Regions from separate parts of the Homo sapiens genome. Here region 2 is linked to region 1. The links are contacts of gene promoters, found by promoter capture Hi-C in blood cells and fetal thymus (Javierre and others, 2016). All regions are on one chromosome and are shown on one strand. Each heading gives the region's core, a stretch centred on a gene start or on the middle of the fragment in contact. The rest is flanking DNA. Distances are from core to core; before and after follow the strand shown.

Region 1 (4,583 bases), core at 1,086-3,585:
TGGGGGCTGTTTTTCTTTCTTGGGGGAGGAAGCAGGCATTGGGACCCTCAGATCATGGATCTTACTGTCTTTGGACCAAGTCTGTGCTCTAGAAGATGAAACTGATGGCAAGTGCTCCTCCCAGGAGCACTGTGTTGGGGGTAGGCTGATGGCATTTGCATTCCGTCCCTCCCATTTTAAACATAAGCCATCCCAGACCAAAGAGGCAAAGGAAGGAATGGATATCAGAGCGGGAAGAGGCCCCGGGCACAGTTTTCCTACACAGGGCACTGGCTCAGCTGCAGGGTTGCTTTGTTTGGGAATTGCATGTCAGCCCCTTTGGTGACCACTTTCTGGGCCCCAGATCAGGCAGAGAAGAGAATCCCACCTCAGACTGCCAGCCAGTGTACTCCAGCAGGTGGGGATCCTGGGACTGAGGCAGGGCTCTGAGAGCTTGAAGCACATGGGCGAGATGTGGAAGCCACAGTGACCTGTGGATGAAGCCCAAGGAGACTGGACCTCAACTTGCAACTCAAAGAGGGAGGTCTTGCTCTAACAGGGAGGTGTCACCCTCTCCACTAACCTCTTGGCAATCATGATTTACTTCCAGACAATTTCACCCAAGGCACTTAGAAGGGCAGGTTCAGAGCCAGGGATCTGCTTCTAGATTCTGCATTTTAGAGCTGGAAAAGCCCTCAGCCATCTGTGCCCTGCAGCCCTGTGCCCTGGGGCCATCTGCGCCCTGCAGGCCTGGCTCTCTGCAGGAATGCAGGGAACACAGAAGCCAAGGGCTCCCATCCTAGCTCCTCTGCGTATTGGTTTCTTGGGGGAACTTGGCTCAATTACCTGACCTCATTCAGCCTCAGGTACATGACCTCTAAGATGGGAAGGTGGGTAGCTGCTGGTCACCCAGGATCACTGTGAGCCTCCCGTGAGATAATGCATGTGGCATGACTTTATGAACAAGGTCACTCAGGGGAGCTGGTGGCAGTCTGATGAGAAAAAGCATCCCCCAGCATCTTCTGACTCTGCCTGGCAGCCAGGTAAGGGGGTGTCCAGGTTCCCAAGGCCTCCCTCCTACCTAGCCAGTCTCAGAAACAAAGCTGTTTGAAGTTCCCTTTGTAAAAGGCAATCGCGAATGCACTCTAGGGCTGATATCAGGACCCTGGCTCTTCAATCCTTCTCTGGAGATCAGAAGGACTCCATTAATTCCTCCTCTGAGTGGGTAGCACGAGCCTCATTTGCTGCTACCAAGTCAGTTTCTCTGGGTACCCGCATCTAACTCTGCAGGGTTTATGGCTTTTCTTTGGATTACCTCACTTTAAACTCATCAAAACCAAGGAAAAAAATCACATGAGTGTGGCCCTTCTCCAAAGAGAGAATCACTAAGGAGGTTTTAAATGTTTTCCTCCTCTAACTGTACTTAGTTAAGCTAAATCATAACCCAAAGCTGGACAGAGACAGATATTTTAGAAATAACCTCTCCCCACATATATCCCACCACTGGCACATGCACACGCACAGACATGCACACACACACACATGCACACACACACACATGCACACACACACATGCACACACACACATGCACACACACGAAGCCATGGAGAGGAGCTGTCACCTGAGCCATCTGCACCCTGAGTAGGCTCTTGAGCTGTGACATGAGTCAGGTGGAGTAGCCACCAAGGCAATAGCTTCCCTCTGGCACCCCAAATGCAGGCTCACATTCTCTCCAGCCCAGGCAGTTGGATGAGGGCCCGGCAGATATCTGCGGGCCCAGCAGGCGGGGACCTTCCCACCTGGAGAAGGCACCTCCAGGCTCTAGGTCTGAAGTTTCCCAAACTCTGTACTCCTCTCCATCCAGTTCACTCCAGTCTCCTCCAGCTGTCTTTGAGACAGCATGCCCAGGAGATAGGACAAAATTAGTACCAAGACTCACCTGAGTGCCCCTGGCTGAGGCTGTAGAGCCTTGTCCCCTCAGATCTCAGCATTTGCCATGGTGGCCAGAGAGCTGGCTGCCACCACGCTGAGAGCCAGGCCGCCCCTCGGACCGCGTCCCCACAGCCAGCCAAATCCAGATGGAGTCATAGAAAGGGGCTGCAGGGGCGCCCAGGGACGAGTCTCAGAGCAGGACCACAGGGGCCACTTCTGCAGGAGGACCAGGTCAAGATGCAACCTGTGGCAGAGTGGGGGTCTGGGCCTGGGGGACCCAGAATGGGGGGTGTGCGCCTGGGACTCCCTGTCCTTGGTGCCTGGTCCTGGGTAGCGATCAGGAGATGTTCTGAGGAGGCACCGGCAGCTCCTCTAGGTACTGCCTGAGATGCGAACTGCAGCTGCTCTCGCCGCCAGTCCGTATAAAATAAAGTTCTTGGAGCAGTTGCGGAGGCTTCTGCAATGGGGTCTGGAATACGGCCCCCCTCCTGCGGCCAATCGTGGCATTACAGCCCCGTGTGGGAACGCCCGCTGGGCCCAGAGCAGCGCGGTCGGCCTTGGCCTTGGGACTCCAACACCCCAGTCTAAAGGTCCTGCTCAAAATACTTTTTGGAAGACTTCTGGGGGAGTGGCAGCTAGACCTGGCTTATGAGCCACGCAAGAAAACCAGTCTTGTAAATTTATTTATAGCACAGAATTGGCATGGCTCAATTCATTCACCAAGCTTGGCACAGAGTTACTTCATGTATTTTCCTGGAGTCACATTCATCCTCAGTGGACACGGATTGGCCACACTGGGGGTAGTCAGGAAAATGCCCCAGGGGGTTCCACGGAACTCAGCAGCAGAATCAGCGTTTCTGGCTCATTAACGCTGCACAGGGGCTGGGGGGTGCAGGATGAAGACTAGCTGGCTGTCCATAGCAATTCAGTATGGGAGGGGGACCCAGGCACGAATAATCCTAAACCTGAGCATGATTGCTTACGTTTGAAAAAGGACATCTAGGCCGGGTGCAGTGACTCACACCTGTGGTCCCAGCACTTTGGGAGGCTGAGGTGGGAGGATTGCTTGAGCCCACCCACAAGTTCAAGACCAGCCTGGGCAACATAGTGAGACCCCATCTCTAAAAAAAAAAAAAATCTCTTTAAAGGCAATCTAACCATATGTGAAGGGAGCTGCTAAATTCAGATTGAGGTGGTAGTATCAGGGGCATCAGAGAAATCACCATAATTGTCCAAGCCAGGGTGGCAGAGTTAGGCTATGCAGATGGCTTCCAGAGGACAGCACCCAGAGGTAACATTCATGAATGCATTCCTGTTTGTTGGTGAAAAGTTCAGCCTCAAGACTCCAGGGTCAGGCTTCGTACATGAAAAGTGTTTGCCAAGACTCAGCTGTGTCACTGCAGCTGCCCGCCCACAGCTGAGTCAGAAACGCCGTCCTCATTCTCAGTGACTGCCCTGCCTGACTGCCTAGGAAGCAGCTCCAACATCAAACTCCATTTTACAGAAAGAACAAATGATAATTGTATCATTATGGTAATAATCCCAGGGAGCGGAGGAGGAGAAGGAAAAGAAGACAACACTTTATAGCATATACCATGTGTTTCTTATATATTAGCTCATTGAACCTATTCAACAACCCCCTGAGGCAGGTGCTGCTATTATGCTCATTTACAGAGACAGAGAGGAAGTGACTTGTCCAGGGTCTTGTAGCCAGTAAGTGGCAGAGCTAGTATTCAACCCTAGGCAATGTGATCCTAGGGTCTATGCTCTTAACCCCTCCCCTGTACCATTGCCTCTCAAGGGGAAACAAATGTTTTTGTCCCCCATCAATTCACCAACATTCCTAGGAATGTAATCTTAAAAACAGCCAGAAATGTGCTCAAAATATGATGTCCAACCAGCCTGGGCAACATGACAAAACCCTGTCTCTACAAAAAAAAAAAAATACAAACAATAGCTGGGCGTGGTGATGCACACCTGTAGTCCCAGGTGCTTGGGAGGCTGAGATGGGAGGATCAACTGAGCCCAGGAGTTTGAGGCTGCAGTGAGCTGTGATCGCACCACTGCACCCCAGACTGGGTAACAGAACAAGATCCTGTCTTAAAAAAAAAAGTGATGTCCAAAGACCTTCCCTAAAGAGATGTGTATGTTAGCAAGAAATGTGGTAGTTAGTGTCCCCCTAAATTCAAGCATTGGAAATGTAATCTTTATTGCAACAGTGTTGGGAGGTGGGGCCTTTGTGGGGGTATTTGAGTCATGAATGTATTTGGGATGCCGTAGAAAGGGCTTGCAGGAGTGGGCTGGCTTGATCCTCTGCCTTTCTGCCATGTGAGGACTCCACGCTCATCCTCGCTTGTCCTCCCACCTCCCGCCCTGTTCGAAGCACTGAGTCCTATTGCGTGATAGGCACATACCACACACAATGTGTATATCGGTCTCCTGCTGAAGGGGGTTTGGGATGTTTCCAATCTTTGTCTATTATGAATAAAGCTGCCGGAACAGGCAAAGGGAGATTTGACAGTGAAGTATAGGAATGACCTGGAGGGCTGGTTTTCTCATGGGTGAGAGTCCTCCCGGCAGCTCTTAGCTCAGATACCTCCTTGCCACTAAAATCAGAATTGTCCCCAAAATGATTTGCTTCCATTCAATCACGGATGGCATTTGTAGTAGG
Region 2 (4,152 bases), core at 987-3,486, 330 kb after region 1:
AATTAGCCAGGCATGGTGGCGGGCACCTGTAATCCCAGCTACTCAGGAGGCTGAGGCGGGAGAATCATTTGAACCCAGGAGGCAGAGTTTGCAGTAAGCCAAGATAGCGCCACTGAACTCCAGCCTGGGCAACAGAGCGAGACTCCATCTCCAAAAAATAAAAAATAAGAAGTAAATAAAAAAGGTTGTCATCAGACAGGGAGTACAGACTTCAGGACAAGAGGAAGCCCTACATGAAGACAGCTGCTGGGATCACTGACAGGCAGGGTCAGACATAAGTCCCAGCTCTGCCACTTCAAGTTACATCAGCTCCTCAAGCCTCAATCTGCTCAACTATAAAATGGGGATGATAGCACTTACCCCATAGGGTGATGCTTATAAAGCAATTAGCGCAAAGCCTGGCTCATAGTGCTCTAAAGTCATAGCAATATGATTGCTATGAAATGCAAATAGATTCCACCGCAATGAGATGCCATCAGAATCTGGCAATCTTCCAAAAGCAGAAACAGTGTGTAAAGTTGATGGTTTCCCAGAACACATGGTTTGAAGTCAACACACCTGAGTTTAAGTCCTGGCTCTGCTACTTATAAACCGGATGATCCTAGTCAACTTGCTTAACCTCTAAGAGTTTATGTTCATTTTAAAAGGTGGGTTGATATTAACCCTAGATTACAGGGTTGTATAATATATGAATATAAAATTTTTTGGTAACCTGTCAAGAATATTCTCTACATGTGGTTGATGAAAAGGATGGAGGTGTATCTGCCTCTAGCAAGAGCAGTCCCCTCTTCTCTGCTGGCAGCATCAAAATTACAGGACTTCGAATAGGTCATAAGACAAAACTCAATTAGGGTCCAGCTTCGGCTAAAGCTGCATATGTGATTCTCCAAACAGATAAGCAACTAATTATATTGCCCTTGGAAGCAAGATTACATGCAAATCGATTAAGGCCAAGCCATAGTGGTATTTTATCTTTATAAACAGCAAGGCACAATTAAATTTATGAGGTGTCATTACCAAAAGAAAAGGCAATTCAACATTTCTTTATTCAATATGAGACGCTCAGAATATAGTATTGCCACATAGAAGTATTAGCTGAGCTTGGCTCACGAAGTGAAATACAAGCCATGGAAAATTCAGCCTACTCAGGTAACTTTTGATTTACTGATGTTTGCTATGGTTGTATAAAAATAGCAACAACCTGTCACTATTCCCATTTCACAGTTGAGAAGACTGAGGCTCACAGAAGTGAAATAATTTGCACACAGTCCCACCGTTACAAAGTATAAAGTTTCAGCATCAATGTAACAACAAACCTGTTATTATCCCCACTTTGTAGTTGAAAGGACTGACCATCTCAGGACTTGTCTGCAGTCACACAGGTCCACAGTGTAAGGTTTAAACACAAATACAACTCGTGAATTAACTAAGTACTCATCTCCATTTAAATACAGAACATCATCCAGCATGGAGATATAGTCAAGACTTCTTACAAATGAAAAACATCTACTGAGTTTTCAAAGTTCAAAATCTGATTTAACCTAGAACACAGTTGTAGTAGGTGTTGGGAAGTGTATGAGAAAATACAGAATGCTGTCTCTATAACGATATTTACATAATTTTGAGTTTTCACTGACATTAATCTCATTTTAAAGCTTGCAAGCCACCTGTAGGGTGGATGGAACTATGTGGTCATCTCCATTTTGCAGATTCTGTGAATTGCAGGGGGGAATGGATAGCATTGAATATGGATGGCTCCTCAAATAATCAGTGGAGTCAATTGTTAAAAGTGAGGGGAGACAGAGAAGGGTCGGGAGGTTGGAGTCCGAAAGGTAGACGTGCCTCTGACCCACAGGGAGGTCCTGGCTAGAGCCAAGGACACTCAACAAGGTCTCCCTAAGTGCCAAGCTGCAGGGCCTCACATTTCACCTGCAGGAAGACTATCAAATGGAACATGTACTACGTGTCCCAGAAGCTCATCTTCCTTTTATACCTCGCCCTTAAATCCCATTTACCCAGATTTTGGCAAGCATCAGTCAAACCAGCCAACATTTCCTGAACATGCAAGTTGCCCCAGTTAATGAAGTTCACAAAAAACCTCAGCCAGAGAGCATTTTGCTAACATCTGTCACAGTTTGTCAGCTCAGCCTATGCACACATTCTGTATTACAACCTCATATTAGGAAGGAAAGGAAACGGCTCCTTTTCTCCTCCCTTCCCTTTCTTCTGCGACGTATAGCCACTGCCACCATGTGGCTGTAGAGGGCACAGCCACGCTGTTTGGAACAAATTCTACAAAAATGTCTAGAAAGACGGAAACTTAGTAGAATGAGAAATGTAAGGCCAGGCATGGTGGCTCATGTCTGTAATCCCAGCACTTGGGGAGGCCGAAGCGGGAGGATCACCTGAGGTCAGGAGTTCGAGACCAGCTTGGCCAACATGGTGAAACCCATCTCTACTAATAATACAAAAATTAGCTGGGGGTGGTGGTGCACTCCTGGAGTCCCAGCTACTGAGGAGGCTGAGGCAAGAGAATTGCTTGAACCTGGGAGGTGTGGGTTGCAGTGAGCCAAGGTTGTGCCACTGTACTCCAGCCTGGGCAACAGAGTGAAACATCGTCTCAAAAAACAAAAAAGAGTGTTAGAGTGAATGCTGCATGCCAGGTTCTTTCCTTCTTTTCCTTTCGTATATATTCTTATTGCCTGTCAGTTCTATTTTAATTGCTTACAAACGTTAACCCACTAATCATCCTCTGAGATAGGTACTAATTTCATCCCATTTTTGCAGATGAGGAAATGAGAGGTCAAGTACAGCTAGCAAGCTTCAGAGCTGTGATCGGAAGCAGGCAGTCTGTAGTCATTAGCAGATGAGAAAGCGCATATCACCGCCACTCTGCAGCGTGGGTCTGTTGTGCCTGTGTTGATAGATGGGGCCCCCGAGGCTCGCTGGCCTCCCACTATGATGTGCTCTTCCAGATGCCAGGGCAGCAGAGGAGACTGATCTAACTCAGACCAGGGGGTGGACATGGCTTCCCAGAAGGGATGATGCTAGAGGTGTGTGTGAAGGATGAGTTGGAGAAGGATATTCTGGGCAGAGGGAACAGCAAGTGCCAAGATAAAAAGACATTAAGAAGCCAGGCACAGTGGCTCATGTCTGTAATCCCAGCACTTTGGGAGGCCGAGGCAGGCAGATCACTTGAGGTGAGGAGTTCAAGACCAGCCTGGCCAACATGTGAAGCCCCGTCTCTACTAAAAACACAAAAATTAGCTGGATGTGGTGGTGTGCACCTGTAATCTTGCTACTCAGGAGGCTGAGGCATGAGAATCACTTAAACTTAAGAGGCGGAGTTTGCAGTGAGTCGAGATCGCGCCACTGCACTCCAGCCTGGGCGACAGAGTGAGACTCTGTCTCAAAAAAAAAAAAAAGAAAAAGAAAAAAAAAAAAAAGAAAGACATTAAGAGGCTGATACAGTTGGGAGCTACACGTGATCGGCTGAGACTAGAGGCTATGCAAGGTTAGGTGCCAGGAGATGAAGCAGGAGTTGGTCAGTGCTAAGTCCTTGGAGCTCCCCCTGACAGCAACAAGGTTATAAAATTAGTTTAAATATAAGGTGACATCATCAGATTGGAGATGGCTTGGGGGGAAGCCAGATCATTAGGTGGACTAATTAGGAGGCTATTACAATAACCAAGGCAATAAATCTCAACTAAAGCCCTGGTCCTTGGGATAGAGAAGAAAAATTAATCTCAAATGCATTTGCGATACAGTCATTTATGTAGGCACTGTGTTCATTATTTGTTTCAAAACCCGTCTCAAATGTGAGTTCATTGGCCAGGTGCAGTGACTTATGCCTGTAATCCCAACACTTTGGGAGGCTAAGGTGGGAGGAACATTTGAGGCCAGGAGTTCGAGACCAGCCTAGGCAACATGGCGAGACCTCATTTCTGCTAAAAATTTAAAAACTAACCAAGCATCCTGGGCTCAAACAATCCTCCCAGCTACTTGGGAGGCTGAGGTGGGAGGATTGCTTGCGCCCAGGAGTTCAACGCTTCAGTGAGCCGTGATTGCACCACTGCACACCAGCCTGGGCAACAGAGCGAGACCATCTCAAACAAACAAAAAGTCAATTCATTGATTTAACAAACACTTATT

Evidence for each region. The method cuts DNA at HindIII sites, captures the fragments that hold promoters and counts their contacts. A CHiCAGO score of 5 or more calls a contact.
Region 2: a fragment that was not itself captured here is called in contact with the fragment with the promoter of SCARA5 in region 1 in 1 of 17 cell types (M1 macrophages); the score reaches 5.1 in M1 macrophages.

Annotation. Positions count from the first base shown.
Region 1 is chr8:27,990,338-27,994,920 of GRCh38, forward strand. It overlaps SCARA5 (scavenger receptor class A member 5), which reads right to left and starts at 2,336. Exons shown (of 9, transcript NM_173833.6): 1 at 1,920-2,336. The HindIII fragment of the contact is 6,163 bases long and covers 1-2,634 here.
Region 2 is chr8:28,322,241-28,326,392 of GRCh38, forward strand. All of the region lies in intron 1 of PNOC (prepronociceptin), which reads left to right. Among named protein-coding and RNA genes, the nearest start is that of PNOC, 7.0 kb to the left of the region's middle. The HindIII fragment of the contact is 1,166 bases long and covers 1,654-2,819 here.